Regions from separate parts of the Homo sapiens genome. Here region 2 is linked to region 1. The links are contacts of gene promoters, found by promoter capture Hi-C in human tissues and cell types (Jung and others, 2019). All regions are on one chromosome and are shown on one strand. The core of a region is centred on a gene start or on the middle of the fragment in contact, and the rest is flanking DNA. Distances in the headings are between cores, read along the strand shown. Region 1 holds the start of ALG10B (ALG10 alpha-1,2-glucosyltransferase B). Region 2 overlaps LINC02406 (long intergenic non-protein coding RNA 2406).

Region 1 (4,168 bases), core at 905-3,404:
CACTAAGGGTTAACCTGCCCACAGTAACAAAACTGGTTAAGTGGCAGGGAGAGAATTCTAACCCAGGCAATCGACCTCCGGGGCCTGCACTATTACCACATCAAAAGTCCTCAGGTAAAGTCTGTTTTCCCTACTGAATATATACGTTTTACAAGAAAAAGACTGCCTCATTTATCTCTGTAGTCCCAGTCCCCAGCACATGGAATAAGCTCAGTAAGTATTTATTGAACTGGTTTGACTCACTTAACAAATATTTACTTTAGAGTTTACAAATAAGTTATTCAAGTATTTAAATACAAATTTATTCTAAAATGGAGATGGAGAATTTAAATTTACCTTTACATAATATACAAAAAATACAAAGTTACAAAGTGTTAAAGACATTTTTCACCAAATCTCATAAAACTAATTCATTGTAATTGTGGACCTGACTACACATAAACTTGTAATTAAGTATTTTGAAACATACCTTGTTTCTGGGTTGTACCTTGTGGAAAAGCAAATATAGTAAATAGAAGTTGCCAACACTGAAGAGAAGATTAACAAATCTGAGCATCCCAATGGAGCAGACAACATGTTCAGACCATGCAAAGATCCAAATGGCAGGTTTGACCACTCCAACTGACACCAGGTACAAGCCAGGTAATGTAGTAATCATGGGATCCCACTTTAAAATGAAAGAAAATGAAGTAAAAGCAAGAGGTAATACGAACAAGACAGACACAAATATGTCAAGCCCAAGTCTCATCTCCAGCAACAATCAGAAATTTTGAGAAGTTAGTCTATGACAAGATTAAGTAAGTCCTTGGCAGAACAGGATTAGTTTTTCTTATTTTTTGCCCCCGGACCAGCTTAGTGATGGTTCAGGTAGCAGCAACCAATAAACAACAACTTAAAATCTATTTCTATTTTCCAAGAAATGTTCTTTAAAAGCCTTTATTTTGATAAATAAACTGCAAATGCTCCAGTTTTTAAAAGCATGGAAACATTGTTTGGGACTCTAAGTTTAGGAAAACATTTGGACCACAGGCTCCATGATGACAGCTGACATAAACTGAGACAGAAATTGTGCCAAACCCTCTGTATTGTAACATTACAATATGCCCTATAGTAAAGATTATTGTCATTTTGCAGATGAGTAACCTGAATTTCTGAAACTCAGAACATCTCCAAGATCACAAAACTAGTAAATCACAGCACCAAGATTTAAGATCAGATCTTTCTCTAAAACAGACTTTATATTTCTAGCCAGTACCCTATATTGTGTCACCAGAAAAGCAGGGGATGTTTATTTTGATATTTATATGTACATACTTGCACAGTCAAATATATATTCAAAAATGATGTGACTTGACTGGTTGCCAGTTTATCCAGTCAACAGATAGTTCACTAAAAATACCCAGGGAAGGAATTTGTGATTATAAATTGTCACTTTTTGGTAGCCGAAGATCCCTCCAGTCCACCCTATCCCACCCCTAAAATGCACAGTGAGGTGCTTAACAGGTGAGCTAAAGGGAAGTTTTCTGATATTTCCAAGGAGCACCCGAATGCCTTTAATCCTGAGACAAGGAAAAACAAAGTGGGATCGATATTGTCAGCTGCCAAGAGGAGCGCTCAGTTCCCCACTAAGTATTCTCCCAGATCACTCCTCCCTGGGGATCAGATCTGCTGTTTATTCATTCATTTAATAAATATTTCACAGATCTCAGAGACAGGAACAAAAGACTATACCCAGTTTCTTTCATGTTCTGAGGCTGGGGTGGGGTGGAAAGGGACGAGTTAAGTCTAAAGATGGGAGAAGGAGCTGGGGACGCTGGGACCTTTCAGGCCTCTCCTGGGGTGGGGACAGGTTGGGCACCCCACCTGGGAAAGGGAGAAATGGCCCTCACAGTAGCGCTGCGCCTGAGGCAGGTGGAAGATCTCGTCCATGTAGGGCTCTCGCAGCGCCCGGCTGAAGGCGGAGAAGAGGAGGCAGGACACTAAAAAGGTACAGCTCAAGGCGGCCGAGAAACAGTAACCCTCTAGCTGCGCCATTCCTGCTCCCACAGCCACTGCCCAAGAACCCACTCCTGGAAAATTCTGAGCCCGGAAACCCGAGCTGGAAACTTGGGCTCGAAATGGGCGCGCTAGACAGGACTAGCCAGACGGGGCCACATACCGGAAGGCAAAGGATGCTGGGAGAGCGCGGATCCGGAAAACAGCGGGTCGCTGTTTCCTGGAGTGACGGGTTTAGATAACGGACCGGATGATTACCCTCTCCATCACATTACTCGGGGCGCACAGTGTCAAAACTTCCGGAAAGGGCGGGTCTCGGATTTCGCGAGCGCGGGAGGGGCGTGGCTTGCTGCTTTGGAAAAAAAAAAAAGCCGCTTCTTAGCTTGGATCTTTTTTCCTGCTCATTTCCATCACTTACCAGAAGGTGGCGACGTTTCCCCACGTTTCCAATTCCAAGCCCTAAAATTAACACATTTTTTTCCCCCGTTATTTCTTTTCTTTCTCTCCAGTGATCCGAATTAATTAAACCCTCAATTCCAAGACATTTCATTCCATCAACCTTGGAGTGTAGGAAGGGGGCGTTGGTTGTGATAGCAAAGACTGAGACTTTCAGATGAAAACTTGAAGAACCAGAGACCCGTCAATGCCGAATGAACTTCAGTGAGAGGAGTGTTTGTTCGTTTGTTTGTTTGTTTAGGTTAAGAGAGAACTCTTTCAAAATGTGGATGCTCTCAGAGGATTTAGTAAAATTGACACTCCTAGTGCACTCTCATAGCCATATTACCCTGTAGGATTTGGAAGAAAATATATATTTTAGAATTTGGGATGTTTTAGGTGTGCCTGTAAATTAGGTTGTTAATATTTATAAGGCAGCCTTCTGTTTTTCCTACTAAATCATAAGCGTGAACATCTTAGTGGGTGGCATTATACATCCTTTATGTTTGTAGTCCCCCAAATGGCTTTCACACAGTAGGCACTTAAATTTGTGGACTTTTATAGGCTGTGTAGACATCATCAAATTCCTGTATTCTGGGATTAGGTGTTGGGGGCAGGAGATGTGGTAAATAATTTGAAGAATGCCGAAGATAAATTATGTGTTGGAATTTTGTCTTGAGCATGGTTGGCCATGTTTTGTAGAAAAACTTTCTCTCAGGTAACCTCAGTCAGGTTGCCTTTGGCAGGCATATATCAGATTGAGTCGGGATTTAAGGTTGCAAACCTCAGAGTTCTCAATTGAGCTCTTTTTCTGGGTTAAAAATAATTCAGTATTTCTGAACTTAAGAAAGTTTCTTAAATCAAGCTGACTGCCTTTCCAGTCTGTCTCTGCCTGTTTCCTCAATGATAAGAGGAGGTAGTGGTGAATGAGGGCTGGGACGGGAATATTTACATTACTGGAATAAAATCATGTCAGGATTCTACTCTGATGTGATGCTTAGCTTTGCTTTAACCATCATCTCCCATTTTATTATTGATTCCATGCTGTACTTATCTGTTTAAGTCACTTGTAACACATCTCCAGATGATTCAGTCTTCAAGAGGTTGATGTGATCTACGAGTAATTAGCCCCTGACCTATTGACCTGCTAAATCGTGTTATATATACTCTGCAGCTTACTGACCCACCCTAGAAATAGTGGGCCGTTTTTAAAGGGAGTAGAACAAGACTAGACATTTATGCTCTCCATTTTTCTTCATAACAATTGCCACCAATAGTTTATGTTAAACATTTGACTCCTATACATGCTGCACACATCGCTTTACATAAAATGGAAAGTTTCAAGGAAATATAGGGTTTTAGGATGGCTAGGGATCTTTATTAATAATCTACTTGACTTCATTTTATAAAAGAAGCTGATTTTTAAAAAATGAATAATTTACCTAAAATTACATAAAAAATTAGTGTCAGAACCAAGTGTAGGAATTAGAACATCAGACCAAGAGTAATAAAATAACTTCACAGCCTTATAGGTTAAAATAATCTACAATATATACTGAATTGAATGTTTCACTAGTCCCAATAACTTTACATTTACATTCCACTATTCTCTGTTTCCATACACCAATTTGAAATACAAGTTTCATCTTTTAAAAAAATGTTCGTCTTACAGACTAATTACATCAAAATCTGCTGGGGGATCATTGTGAAAAACTAGATTCTAGAGAGCCATCTCAAA
Region 2 (4,168 bases), core at 962-3,461, 800 kb before region 1:
CTAATTTTTGTAGTTTTAGTAGAGACAGGGTTTCACCATCTTGGCCAGGCTGGTCTTGAACTCCTGACCTCGTTATCCACCTGCCTCAGCCTCCCAAAGTGTTGGGATTACAGGCGTGAGCCACCGTGCCCGGCCCACCTTGGTTTTTCAAAATTCTCCCGAGCAATGGTGCTGTTAGTGTTGGAACATATCTGAAACAGGGCACCAAAGTATGTTAGTGGTGGTGAATACACAAGGGTTTACAGACACCTCAATTCTTGGCTCCTAAAATTCATTAGAGGAGGCAGAAGGCAGAAGGAGAGACTGAGGCAAGTTTTAGAGCAGGAGTGAAAGTTTATTAAAAATTTTTAGAGCAGGAACAAAAGAAATGAAAGTATACTTGGAAGAGGACCAAGCAGGTGACTTGAGAGATCAAGTGAACAGTTGGACCTATTGAGTTGGGGTTTTATATGCTGGCATACTTCCAGGGTCTTGCATCCCTTCTCCCCTGATTCTTCCCCCAAGGGAAGGGCTGTCCATAAGTGCAAGTGGGCCTGCCAGCACTTGGGAGGGGAGCATGCAAAGTGTGTTTACTAGAGTCGTATGCATGCTCACCTGAGGTGTTCTTCCCTTACCAGTCAAATATCCCTAAGGCATCATATACCACTTAACCTCTGCCATTTTTCCTCTTAGTGTGCCTGTGTGAGCCCACTCACCCAACTCCTCAGATCTTATCGGGAAGCTACTGATCACCAGTTTCAGGCTTTTCCTATGTATTGGGAGCCTGCCTTTCCCTGGTGCTGGCTGCTACCTATTATTCTTTTAGAGAAACAGTTAACAACCACCAGACCATCACCTGATGGTTTCCTGACATTCCTGGTTGGGGGTTGGGGGTTGCGGGGAGCCCTCTCCTGCCCTGTTTGTGTCTAACTAGCTGCCTACTGTAACAGTGCCGAAAATGAGTCTAGGAGAAAAGTAAGCTCAGAAAGAAACACAAAGAGAAAACTCAGTATATTCTTGTGAGACAGAAAAGCTTTTCTTTTCCATTAGAGGAGTGAGAGGGCAAGAGGACAGATCTCATGTCAGCATTTTCTCTTTCACAGGTCCAGCTTTGAATGAGTTTGATGTGGCAGAAACTTCAAATACATATCGGAAAATCAAGAATGCTGGAAATCATGCTACGCTTTCCTAGGCACAGCCTGAGGGAGGCTGCAGGCCTACAGGAGAATTGATGCACTTGGCTCAGTGCCACATCCAACATTAATGGAGGGAGAGTGTGGATTTGAGGAGGAGAGAGACTAAATATATGAGCCTGAGGCTATACTCTTGGCTCCCTATGGCCTGCAAATGAAATGCCTGGGATTGAGAAATGCCTTTTTATTCCAGTAGAATAGATGCAAAAGTGCTGAGAGGATGAGGAGAGCAGTGGAGGCCCCAGACCACAAGAAGTGGGAACTTCAAGGCCAAAGGCCAATGCCACACAACCTCATCATTTTATTTTCACACTAGAGTGTGTTGTGAGTAAAATTTGCATCTCCATTGCAAAACATGTTAAAGGAGAGTGCTGTTAGAAAATAGAGGCCGGAATATTTGCACATTCATTCTTCCTTTATTCCAAGTGTTTGTTGAGTACTTAACATATTGGACAATGGGCTGATAGCCTTATTTTCTATATCTCTTTTAAGAGGAGAAACCATAAAGATACATTTTAGGGAAAGATATGTGCATATCCCTCTGACTTCTCACTCTCTTGGTAGGAAGATATGTCTGTAGTGTTTCTATTCATAGAAATGTAATTCAAAAATTCAGCCAATAGTTATTGAGTGACTCCTATACACCAGGTGTTATGTTAGGTCTTGGGGAAGAACAATGATGAACACTATAGAACAGTGTTTGCTTTCCTTCCAGGCTAGGATGGAAAATAGTACTTAAACCATTGTGATACAGCCTCATAAGCATTGTGGTTGGATAAGTACAGTGTGCTAGAAGAGCATCTATGGCAGGCCCTGAATCCACATTTATACCCCATCTTCAGGAGTGGTTATGTTACTGTTAAGAGACTTGTACTTTACTTAGAAATTCTTTCATTTATGTAATAGGTATCATGTGTGGAATATGTAGGCTAAGGTACAACCCCACTCAGTCATATGACTCCACTCACATGTCAGAGGGCTGAAAAGAAAATGTAGTCTCTGGTCAGGAAGATGCCTTCAATAACTACCTTCGATAACCAATAACCATGTGGAAGGGCAGCACAAATATTTGCTGGGTAGTTAGCTCTCTCTGCTATATAACCTGATAATTGTTTATGACCAACTGCTTTAAGTAAGTTCCTCAAATTAGGCTTAGACAATGTCTTTGTCCATTGTAGTTTGCCAAATCACAAAATTTAGAAGAATCAATGTAATTCCTTTATATGACCATTAAAATATTAGTGTCAGAAGTCTAGGTATGCTATGGTTAATATAATTTAAATTAATTTGTAAACGTGACAACTCCATCAAAGGGAGGGCTGTATATTGAAAAAAAAATGTTTGTTAACCCCAAAAAGCCCATCCAAAAATAGTGAGATGATTCTTGTAAAAGGCTTCTGCTTTAGATTTGTAAAATTAGCTTTTTCCCATTGTGTATAAAAATGATATATCTTTCCATTCAAGGAGAAAAGCTATTTTTGAGCTCTGTGATGGATATCCTCTTTCAAATTCAAATAACTAATAACAGAATTGTGTCTATTGTATCAGCCTGGAAATAAGCAAGAAAGAGATGGCACCACCATGCTTACTATTGATGAACTTAATAGAAGGACTCTACAAAGCTTTGAGACAAAATTAGGAGCATCAACAAGGGATAGTGAAACACTTTGAGTTTAGTACAGTTAAGAAGATATTACTTCCATGCTTGCAGTAGCGATGGGAGGGAGCAGTGGGAGAACCCAAGACAGAGAGGGCTAGTAAGTGGAGACCACTATCTGGAGTGGCAACTGCAGATAACCAGCACAGCTGTTAATCAGATAAGCTAAATTTCACCTTTCATTACTTCATCTTAATGTTTCCTCTCAACCTCAGAGAAGGAATAATAAATGGCATAATGGTTAAAGGCACGAATTCTAGAGCCAGACTCCTGGATTCAAATCCTAGTTTTGCCACTTTACTTAATGTATTTGTGCCTTAATTTTCTCATCTGAAAAATGAAAATTTACCTCTTGTTGTTGGAAAGATTAAATGGGTTACTATAAGTAAACTCTTAGAATGCTATCTGACATATTGACAAATGCTATATAACTTTTACCTATTTTATTGGGTCTTTATTTTGATAATATACACAAACAGCAAGTTCTCATGATGAATCAGTCAGTTTTGAAGTCTATTAGCCTTGGGTAGACTCTATGAAGTGAGCAGGTTTCTGTCTGCCCACTCTCTTTGGAAAACCACCCCTCCCCCATTCTTAGGTCAGTCACATGGTTTAAGTTAGGCTGTCCTTTTGCCAGTGAGTGCTCACATACACCTTTCTAGGATGTTGACGAAAGACTTCAATTAAGCTAACTAGACATATTCTTTTGATTATACATAATCCATAATTACACTGGATCCTCTTCACTGGGATGGTTACCTGTCAGGATAATCTAAACTTGGAATTGTTTGTAACCATCTTTCCATTCTCCCTGAGAATGAAGACAGCAAAGAGGAAAGAAGGGGAGGAAATGGAGAATTTATAGTTGCATGAACCAAGAATTTCCTCATCTTCTTATCTTGTAGTCCAAGTTGTGTGTTGTATTAGTCCATTTTGTATTGCTAGAAAAAGGTACCTGAGGCTGAGTAATTTATAAATAAAAGAGATTTATTTTGCTCACAGTCCTGCAGGCTGTATGAGCGTGGCACCAGCATCTGCTCAGCTTCTGGTGAGGCCTCAAGAAGCTTTCAATCATGGTCAAAGGCAAATGAGGAGCAGTCATGTCACATGATGAGAGAGGGAGCAAGAGGGAGATGCCAGGCTCTTCTAAAAAACCAGCTTTCATGTGAATTAATACAGTGAGAACTCACTCATTACAGCAGAGAAGACACCAGGCTGTTCATGAAGGATCTGCCCCCATGACCTAAACACCTCCCACTAGGTCCCACCTCCAACACTAGAGATCACATTTCAACATGAGATTTGGAGGGGATAAACATCCAAACCATATCAGGTGTCT

What was found. Contacts are between HindIII fragments. The study calls those that stand out against the background at their distance.
Region 2: a fragment that was not itself captured here is called in contact with the fragment with the promoter of ALG10B in region 1 in 1 of the 25 tissues and cell types used here (lymphoblastoid cells).

Annotation. Positions count from the first base shown.
Region 1 is chr12:38,314,760-38,318,927 of GRCh38, reverse strand. It overlaps ALG10B (ALG10 alpha-1,2-glucosyltransferase B), which reads right to left and starts at 2,154. Exons shown (of 3, transcript NM_001013620.4): 1 at 1,864-2,154; 2 at 470-667. The coding sequence starts at 2,034. RefSeq lists an enhancer at 1,884-3,083. The HindIII fragment of the contact is 10,698 bases long and covers 1-4,168 here.
Region 2 is chr12:39,114,147-39,118,314 of GRCh38, reverse strand. The region is part of intron 1 of LINC02406 (long intergenic non-protein coding RNA 2406); the gene reads left to right. Among named protein-coding and RNA genes, the nearest start is that of LINC02406, 29 kb to the left of the region's middle. The HindIII fragment of the contact is 4,376 bases long and covers 24-4,168 here.